Regions from separate parts of the Homo sapiens genome. Here regions 1 and 3 are each linked to region 2. The links are contacts of gene promoters, found by promoter capture Hi-C in blood cells and fetal thymus (Javierre and others, 2016). All regions are on one chromosome and are shown on one strand. Each heading gives the region's core, a stretch centred on a gene start or on the middle of the fragment in contact. The rest is flanking DNA. Distances are from core to core; before and after follow the strand shown. Region 1 overlaps TMPRSS4 (transmembrane serine protease 4). Region 2 holds the start of TMPRSS13 (transmembrane serine protease 13). Region 3 overlaps DSCAML1 (DS cell adhesion molecule like 1).

The links. Contacts are between HindIII fragments. The CHiCAGO score rates a contact against its expected background, and 5 or more counts as called.
Region 1: a fragment that was not itself captured here is called in contact with the fragment with the promoter of TMPRSS13 in region 2 in 5 of 17 cell types (total CD8 T cells, naive B cells, total CD4 T cells and 2 more); the score reaches 5.6 in total CD8 T cells.
Region 3: a contact is called between a fragment that was not itself captured here and the fragment with the promoter of TMPRSS13 in region 2, in 5 of 17 cell types (naive CD4 T cells, non-activated CD4 T cells, naive CD8 T cells and 2 more). The highest score is 6.8, in naive CD4 T cells.

The regions. Positions count from the first base shown.
Region 1 is chr11:118,090,082-118,092,781 of GRCh38, forward strand. All of the region lies in intron 1 of TMPRSS4 (transmembrane serine protease 4), which reads left to right. LOC105369517 (a long non-coding RNA gene) reads right to left here. Exons shown (of 4, transcript XR_007062904.1): 4 at 2,206-2,453. Among named protein-coding and RNA genes, the nearest start is that of SMIM35, 4.5 kb to the left of the region's middle. The HindIII fragment of the contact is 239 bases long and covers 1,223-1,461 here.
Region 2 is chr11:117,928,140-117,930,839 of GRCh38, forward strand. TMPRSS13 (transmembrane serine protease 13) reads right to left here and starts at 1,263. Exons shown (of 13, transcript NM_001077263.3): 1 at 1,148-1,263. The coding sequence starts at 1,168. The HindIII fragment of the contact is 10,649 bases long and covers 1-2,700 here.
Region 3 is chr11:117,788,497-117,791,196 of GRCh38, forward strand. All of the region lies in intron 1 of DSCAML1 (DS cell adhesion molecule like 1), which reads right to left. Among named protein-coding and RNA genes, the nearest start is that of DSCAML1, 7.4 kb to the right of the region's middle. The HindIII fragment of the contact is 8,640 bases long and covers 1-2,700 here.

The DNA.
Region 1 (2,700 bases), core at 92-2,591, 160 kb after region 2:
TCCACCCGCCTCAGCCTCCCAAAGTGCTGGGATTACAGGTGTAAGCCACCGTACCTGGCCCCATCCATATTATTTTGTGTCACTACAGTTCATTTGTTTTGACTGCAGCCTAATATGTCACTGTGTGAATATACCAGTCAGGTTCGTAAAGACTGAGCTGAGGCTGAGTCCTCAAACTGAGATATTTTCATTAATTCTTTCATTCAACAAATATTTTTTCAATACTCATTATGTACTGTGCATTGTAGGAGACATCAGGGATATCACAGTTAACAAGATAGTCACAGTCCCTGTCATTCTAGCTTACGGTTTTGCTTTAGTTTATTTTTTCTTTCTCTCTTTTGGTTTCAAACAGGGATAGAATTTTTTTCCACAACTACTACTCAGTGAATAGCAATTGAAAACATATTAAGAGCCAGGCATTGTGGCTCACACCTGTAATCCCAGAACTTTGGGAGGCTGCGGTGGGCAGATCATTTGAGTCCAGGAGTTCGAGACCAGCCTGGGCAATACAGTGATACCTCATCTCTACGAAAAAAAAAAAAAAATAGCTGGGCGTGATGGTGCATGCCTGTAGTCCCAGCTACTCAGGAGACTGAGGTGGGAGGAGCCCTTGAGCGCAGGAGGTGGAGGCTGCAGTGAGCTGAAATCACAACATTGCACTTCAGCCTGGGCGACAGAATGAGACTCTGTCTCTCTCTCTTTCTTTCTCTCTCACTCTGTCACACACACACACACAAACACACACACACACACACACACACACAAAATTAGCCACTGTTCAGTTCAGTGATGAGGAATCCAAGGCCCCAGAAAGTGCAGAATATAAGCCTCCTTTGTGCCTCAGCTTCTAGCACTATTCCGGGTCCATCAAAGTTGTATAGTCAATATTTGTTAAATTAACAATAAACAAAAGAAACTTGCCCTACCTACCTCAATGAATGCAGGCATGCATGCACAGGTAGACTCAGTGGAAAAGAATGAATTGACAGGAAAGGGCCCACTTCCCTGCTCCACCAACCACTCTTATAGCCTCCCACAGCTCAGCAAGCACCCTCTCACCCACGTAACTAAAACCCAAGCACACCCAATCCATCGGCGAGGCCTATTGTTTGTATCTTCCAAACACATTTGGCGTCTTTTTACCACCAACCTCCTCTCTCCTTATGCCCTTGCCTTGCTCCAGCCATGCCCATCTCTATTCAGTTCCTCCAACCCCCCAAGCTTGTTCCTTCCCACTTGGCTCCTTCTTGTCACCTCCTCTAGGGAGACCAGCAAGATCCTCCGTAACCATCCTGAGCCCCTCCCTAGAGCTCCCATTCTCAGTCTGCATCCAGGCGCTGTCTCCTCTCACCCTGGATTACTCCCTGCATAGCACCTACCCCTCTCTGATCTTTTCTGGTTTATCTGTTTATGGCCTGTCCTCCCCCTTCCCCTAGCCCTCCTCTCCACCAAGAAACAAGCTTCTTGGGGACAGACCCTCGGCTGTCTTCTTTGGGCACTATTTTCCCCATCTTGCTGGGATGATTTCTTGATCTGTCTTTGAATCCTCCTGGAGTAGTGCCTGGTACAATGTAGATGCTTTACAAGCATTTGTTTAGTTTAATAATTAATTCTTTAATGCTGCCCATCCTGGTTGGCAGACAATTGATATCGACTTGACTAGACAAGAGTTAGATGAAAGGACTTTGTAAACTGTTACATGCCAGTTGGGTGTGAATTACTGTTGACGTTATCCTAACTTGACTCTAGCTGCAACAATGCAGAGTCGTCCGATTGGGTCTCATCTTCAGCCTGGAAAGAGTCTGCTCTATCCAGCCCTGGTGATGGTGGAGGAGAGACGGCCGGGAATGAACTACAATGCAGAGCTCAAAGTTCAGTCCAGTTCACAGTCATTTATTAAGTTTTTACTAGGTACTAGCCTGGTGCTAAACAGCAAGGGTACAAAGGCAATGAGAAAGAGTGGCTAATTAAAAATAAAATGTTAAATTTAAAAAAGCAACCAAAAAGAAAGAAAAAAGGAAAGGAAACGCTGACCACCCTATGAGAGAAGCCCTGTGATAAACACCTGTACCAAATGCTACAGAAGTGCAGAGGATGGTGTAACCGCCCAAGGGGTTCACCTTGCCCGCTGCCTAGACAAAACCAATTCATCAAGACAGGGGAATTGAAATAGAGAAAGAGTAATTCACGCAGAGCCAGCTGTGTGGGAGACTGGAGTTTTATTAGTACTCAAATCAATCTCCCCAAGCATTCAGGGAGCAGAGTTTTTAAGGATAACTTGGTGGGTGGGGGGAAGCCAGTGAGCCAGGAATGCTGATTGGTCAGGGATGAAATCATATAGAGTTGGAGCTGTCTTCTTGCGCTCAGTCAGTTCCTGGGCGGGGGCCGCCAGATCAGATGAGGCAGTTTATTGATCTGGGTGGTGCCAGCTGATCCGTCAGGTGCAGGGTCTGCAAAATATCTCAAGCCCTGATCTTAGAAGCAGTTTGGGGAGGGTCAGAATCTTGTAACCTCCAGCTGCATGACTCCTAAACCATAATTTCTAATCTTGGGGCTAACGTTAGTCTAGTCCCCAGACAAGAAGGCAGTCTGCTCTGGGAAAGAGCTGTTACCAACTTTGTTTAAACTATAAACTAAGTTTCTCCCAAAGTTAGTTCTGCCTACCCCTAGGAATGAACAAGGACAGTTTGGAGGTTA
Region 2 (2,700 bases), core at 13-2,512:
GCCCCATGGCTGTGACTAAGGGTTCACCTTCTGCATGCCCTTGTGTACCCCCCTTACTGCTCAACAGTAAGAGGCTCTGATAACCCCCCAAGGCCTAGGGCCAAGTGACTTTGGTGAGGTAGAGACATGAACGAAGGAGCCCAGAGCAGAGGGCAAGGGAGGCAGCCTGGGAAAGAAAAGTCAAGAGGGGGCTGGAAGAATGGTGGGAAAAAAATGATGGTAAAGTTTGCAGAAACACATTGGGGGTGCAGAATGGACCACAAGCCAACTATAAGCCAAAACATAGGATGAGCTGATCTTTCCCAAACCCAGTGCTAGCCCATTCTTCCCAGAGTCCCAGGCTCTACCATGTCGGTAAGGTACAGAGAATTTGGAGGGGGCAGAAAACAAGACCTAAAGGAGAAATGAGAGCACAAAAGGGATTTCCTGGAGGAAAAGAAAGTGGAGGCACAGCAGAACAAGATCTTTGGAAGCCTTCATGTGTGTATGACTGGCTTTCCCACAGAGGACAGGCCAGCTGCTTTCTCCTACCCCAAGAGCAGCAGAAGAAAGGAAGTTGAGTGGTAGCAGGACTTGTGGTTAAACATCAAGAAGCACTTCCCAAGCATGAAAGTTATTAAGTCCAAAAAGAAGTGACCAACGGAGGTTGAAACATCCCCTTGAAAATCTTGAATGCACCCAGAAAGTCACAGTTTTCTGGGAAGGTTTAGGAGTGTAGTGAGGGGTTTAGACAAGATGCCCCTGAATTGCAGTTAGAATGCTTTTGATTTTCCAACCAGCAAAAATGAGATTAAAGTAGATTAGCCTGGATTCCCAATCGGCAAAGTTGGTGCTGTAACACTATGGATGCCCGGCAGGAGTGCTCACAGACCACAGAGCAGGAAACCCACGACTCAGCCACATAGCCCTGGGGTGCTCACCAGCCAGACCCCAAATCCCAGCAGCTTCTCCTCCCAGGGGCTTTTTCTAGAACCACGTTAAAAGGAGACCAAGAGATCTTGATCGTAAGTAGCTTCAAACTAGAAGAGGCACAGCCAGTTTCCCCCAAACCTGAAACACAGAGGTAGCTGTCCCACCTGTCTCCCAGCCTCAGCCCTGCTTCCTCAGCGCTGGGAGAATCTGGCCCGAGGCCTGAGGTCACACTCACCCCGTGGCTGTCCCTCTCCATGGTCTCTGAGGGGAAGAGTCCTCCAGGCTTAGCTGATGTCGAGGAGAAGATCCATCTTGGTCCCTGGCTTCTCAGGCATGTAGGGTAAAGGAGTTGGAGGGCCAAGGGCCAGCCCCCACCAAATGGGGCGGGGAAGCCGGTTGGGACGTGTGAAGTAATCCCCAGTATAAACAACACAGAACTAGCCAGACCTGTTCCTCTGCCCCTCATCGAGGCCATCCCAGTTACTCAGCGAATACCAAATTCCAAATACCGGGAACCTGAAGCTGCCTTTACTCATGAAACTGCCCCCACAGAAGCAGAGGAGTGTTCTGAGCTACTTCTTCAGAGGGGCCCTGAGAGAAAGGGCAGAGCCTTGAGAGGATGGTCTTGGTCCTGTTGACCTGAGCCCCTGAAACAGATGCTCCAGAGCCTTCTGAGGGATGACCCTATCCCCACAGGGGACGTTCCAGGCCAGGGGCAGAGCCCCACCTATGGCAGGACAGTGGGAACCTTCATCTCCAAGGACCAGGTGTCCAAATCCCAAATCAGGGCACATGGTCTCTGGGCGCATGGTCTGGCAATTGCTTTCTCCTGAACTCTGTTTGTTTTTATGAAACTCTTAACAAAGAAATGAAAATCAAATGACCTTTAATTATGCACATCATGAATTGCCCTCTATTGAAAACAATAAAGTGCCAGAAGCAACACATCAAAGTCAATGAAATAAAACATAACTATCTGAATGGAAACTGTTCCAAGAAACATTGGGCTGACTCGTGATCCCAAACCTATACCCTATTCTGATCCTCAGAGTCAAAAGAAGTAAAGGAAGGGCTATTGCAAAAGGAGTCCTTAGCACCTCCGGCTAAGTTCCAGCTGAGCTGCTGCTGAGAACTGCAAAAAAAAAAAAAAGAAAAAGGAGTTCCTGTTGAGGTTTGGGAAGAACTTTCTTGAGCATTCAGAGGCACCAAGATTTTTAGAGTTTGAAAGAAGCTCATGGATCTTTAGTGGTTCACTCTTTTCATTTTACAGACTGCGAGACAGAGGGCCAGAGAGGCTAAGGAATGTGCTCAAGTCACACAGCAAACAACAGCAGCAGCAATAATCTTAAGATGCCAAGAATCCTGCGAAACACTTCACACGCATCCTTCACGTGTTCATTCAACAAATATGTATTGAGTGCCTGGCATTGCTTTAGGTGCTGGGGACACAGGAACAAAATAGGCAAAGCCTCCTGCCCTGTGGCTCTAGTATTTGCGGGTTGGGGGGAAAAAGCAGACAAAAATCAATAAATCAGTTACACAGCCTCCTAGAAAGTGAAAAGTGCCGTTCACAAAAACAAAGCAGCGAAAGGATCCAGAAGGTAGGGGAGGCAGAGTCCTGGCAGTTGGGAACAGGATGGTCAGAGAGGGCTCTCTGTGGTGACATATTTGAGCAAAAACTGAAAGGAAGTGACTACTATCGCCCCCCATTTACATTCAAGAAAACGGAAACTTCTAGCTCACAGTGGAAACTGTGCCCCAGCTTAGGGTGTCTTGAGGGAAATCTAA
Region 3 (2,700 bases), core at 164-2,663, 140 kb before region 2:
TTGTATTTTTAGTAGAGATGGGGTTTCGCCATGTTGGCCAAGCTGGTCTCGAACTCCTGACCTCAAGTGATCCGCCTGCCTCGGCCTCCCAAACTGCTGGGATTACAGGCATGAGCCACCATGCCCAGCCCCATCATTTCTTTGTAGCATTTGTTTTGTGCCAGGCATGGTGGGAAGCCTTTTTCTTGCATTATTGCACATGTAATTCTTACAACAGCCCTTGGATGTAGCTACTACTCAAGACTCCATTTTACAGATAAGAAGACAGGCTCTTAGGTCAAATAATTTCTTGGTGTTGCACAGTTCGCAGTGGCAGAGCTGCATTTCACATCTTTATGCCAGGATGTGTGGCTCAGCAGGCACATGACAGGCTAGATTCAGACCATCCCCATGGTGTGAGCACACTGTGGGGGGATTTTCTGACAAAAGAGATCAATTGGGGTATGATAATTCAGAATTACCTGGGAATCTCCCTGTCATTAGACATTCCATCCCTCCCCCAACTAAACGCCAGCAGCTCCCCACCCTAGTCATTGAGATGACCAAAAAACGCTCCCCATTTCCAATCCCCATGCAAAGCACAGCTCAAGTGTCCTCCCTGTGTCCATCAGAAACATGGGTGGTTTTGCTGTTTGTTTTTAAGATTCTTAGCACAAACATGGTTTCTGTGACCAGCAACCAGAAACCTGCGAGGTCCAGTGGAGACGCAGCTATCCTTCAACCTCCAAGGCCCTGTGCCATCAGCTCCAGGAGAAGTTATGAGCAACAGCTGACTGTCGGACAGACTCTTTAATCTTCCAGCCCTTTCTAGACAGGGCCTGTCAAAGGAAGGTCCCTTATGGCCAAAATTTCTTTCCAGGGAGTCAGCTCAGACAGCACAGTTGTCCCCAGAGAATCCTAGATTTAGATTGTTAATGCTTGAGGGACTTAAGAGATTATTTTTTCCAATCTCCTCCATTCACAAGGCCTAGAGAGGTGGAGTCATCTACCCCAGGGACACAGCTCACCAGCATCCCAGCTGGGGCTACAGTGCTGTCTCCAGTGTTCTCTCAGTTCTGGCCACCCTGCTGTCAGAAAACTAGCCATTGTGGAACTCAGGAGCACCATGAAGCACCGAAACGATGTCATTCGAGGGTGTATCAGAGCAACTAGGGATGCTGCGTGTCCAGAGCAGGGGCCTCAGATGGGCAGGACATCTGCCTATCACAGTCGCAGGGCTGTCAAGTGGAAGAGGGCTTTGCCTTGCTCTATGTGGTCCAAGCGGTGACATCAGGACCAGTGAGTAGAAGGTCCAAGACCACAACAGGGTTTGACTCATTCTAAGGATGAGCTCTGTAATAGTCAGAGCTGTGTGGCCAGGAATGGGCTGCCTTGCAAGGAAGGAGTCCCTGTTGCAGGAAGTGCTAGTGAAGACAGAAAAAGACACTGGGTGGGAAAGCTGCAGAGGGAGTCAGCCTCTGATTAGGGGACAGATTCCACAGCCTTAAAGATGCCTTCCAACCCTGCAAGACTTTTACCCAAGGTGATCACCTGAATCTCCCTCTCCCACCCCCAACGCAGGGGTCCTATCCTCTCTCATACCCCACGACTGCGGGAGGGTCACCCTAGTAGCAGGGTGTCCACCAGTCTCGACTCGGCAGAGTTTTCAGAGATTCCAGTGAATACTGTGACCTTAAATGAGGTCACATAAGATGGGACTGTGCCTACTGCTCTTCCCACAAAAGACTGTGGATTCCCTGCAGGGAGAATGTCCCTTTGGGGGAGTTGGTCCAGAGGACTATGGACTACACTTGCATCTAAGAACCTTGGAGGGGAATGGGAGGAGGGAGAAGAGGTAGGCTTCCTCCCACTCCCACTACCACTGGGGCCTCAAGGGATCTGCCAAGTTTGCTCCAGGAAGACTATTGCCAGCCTGGCTGTGCCTCATCAGCTGTTCCCCATGATGCTGAAAAGCAAAGCTAGGAAAATTCTCCATATGTTGGGGCCCACGGAGGGGGAGACAGCCACAAACAGCTGTGAGACCTTCATCGTTCCTGTATGATGAAATGACAGTAATTATGCCTCACATTTCAGCAGAGCATTTATAAGGCTAAAACGGGTTTGCTGTGGTTTTTACATGTGTGTGTTCATATGTTGCCTCATTCTGTATACAAAGCACTGTCACATGATGTACATTTTTATGCCTCTTATTCTTATTTATGCACATATACAGTAACAACTGCTCTGTAGGATAGCCAGGACGGGGGTAATTTTGCCCATTTTACAGATTACGAAATAAAGGCACATGAACCATTAGGCAACTTGCCCAGGTAAGACAGGCTGAGCTTTGTTTTTTAGGTCCATGGATAATGTTCTTTCCAACACACAGACACACATACACACATGCACGTGCAAACACACATGCATCTCTTTAGAATCAGTTTAATGGATATGCAACTAACTAGCATTTGAATAATTGTTGTTAATGAAGATGGTGACCTTGGAAACTGTTAGTGCAAGCATCATGTAGAGACAGGGCACAGGGAGTGGGGCAGGGCAGCTGAACGAATGAGGGGAGTAGCAGCTGGAGTGGCATGGGTGGTCCCCAAGGCTAATGCTGTTCACTCTAAAGCAGCACAGGACAAACATCTGTTTAACAAGGCACACAGGCTGTGGAGCCCACAGCCTCCCCAACATGTAGGATCCCACAGGCCATGGCCT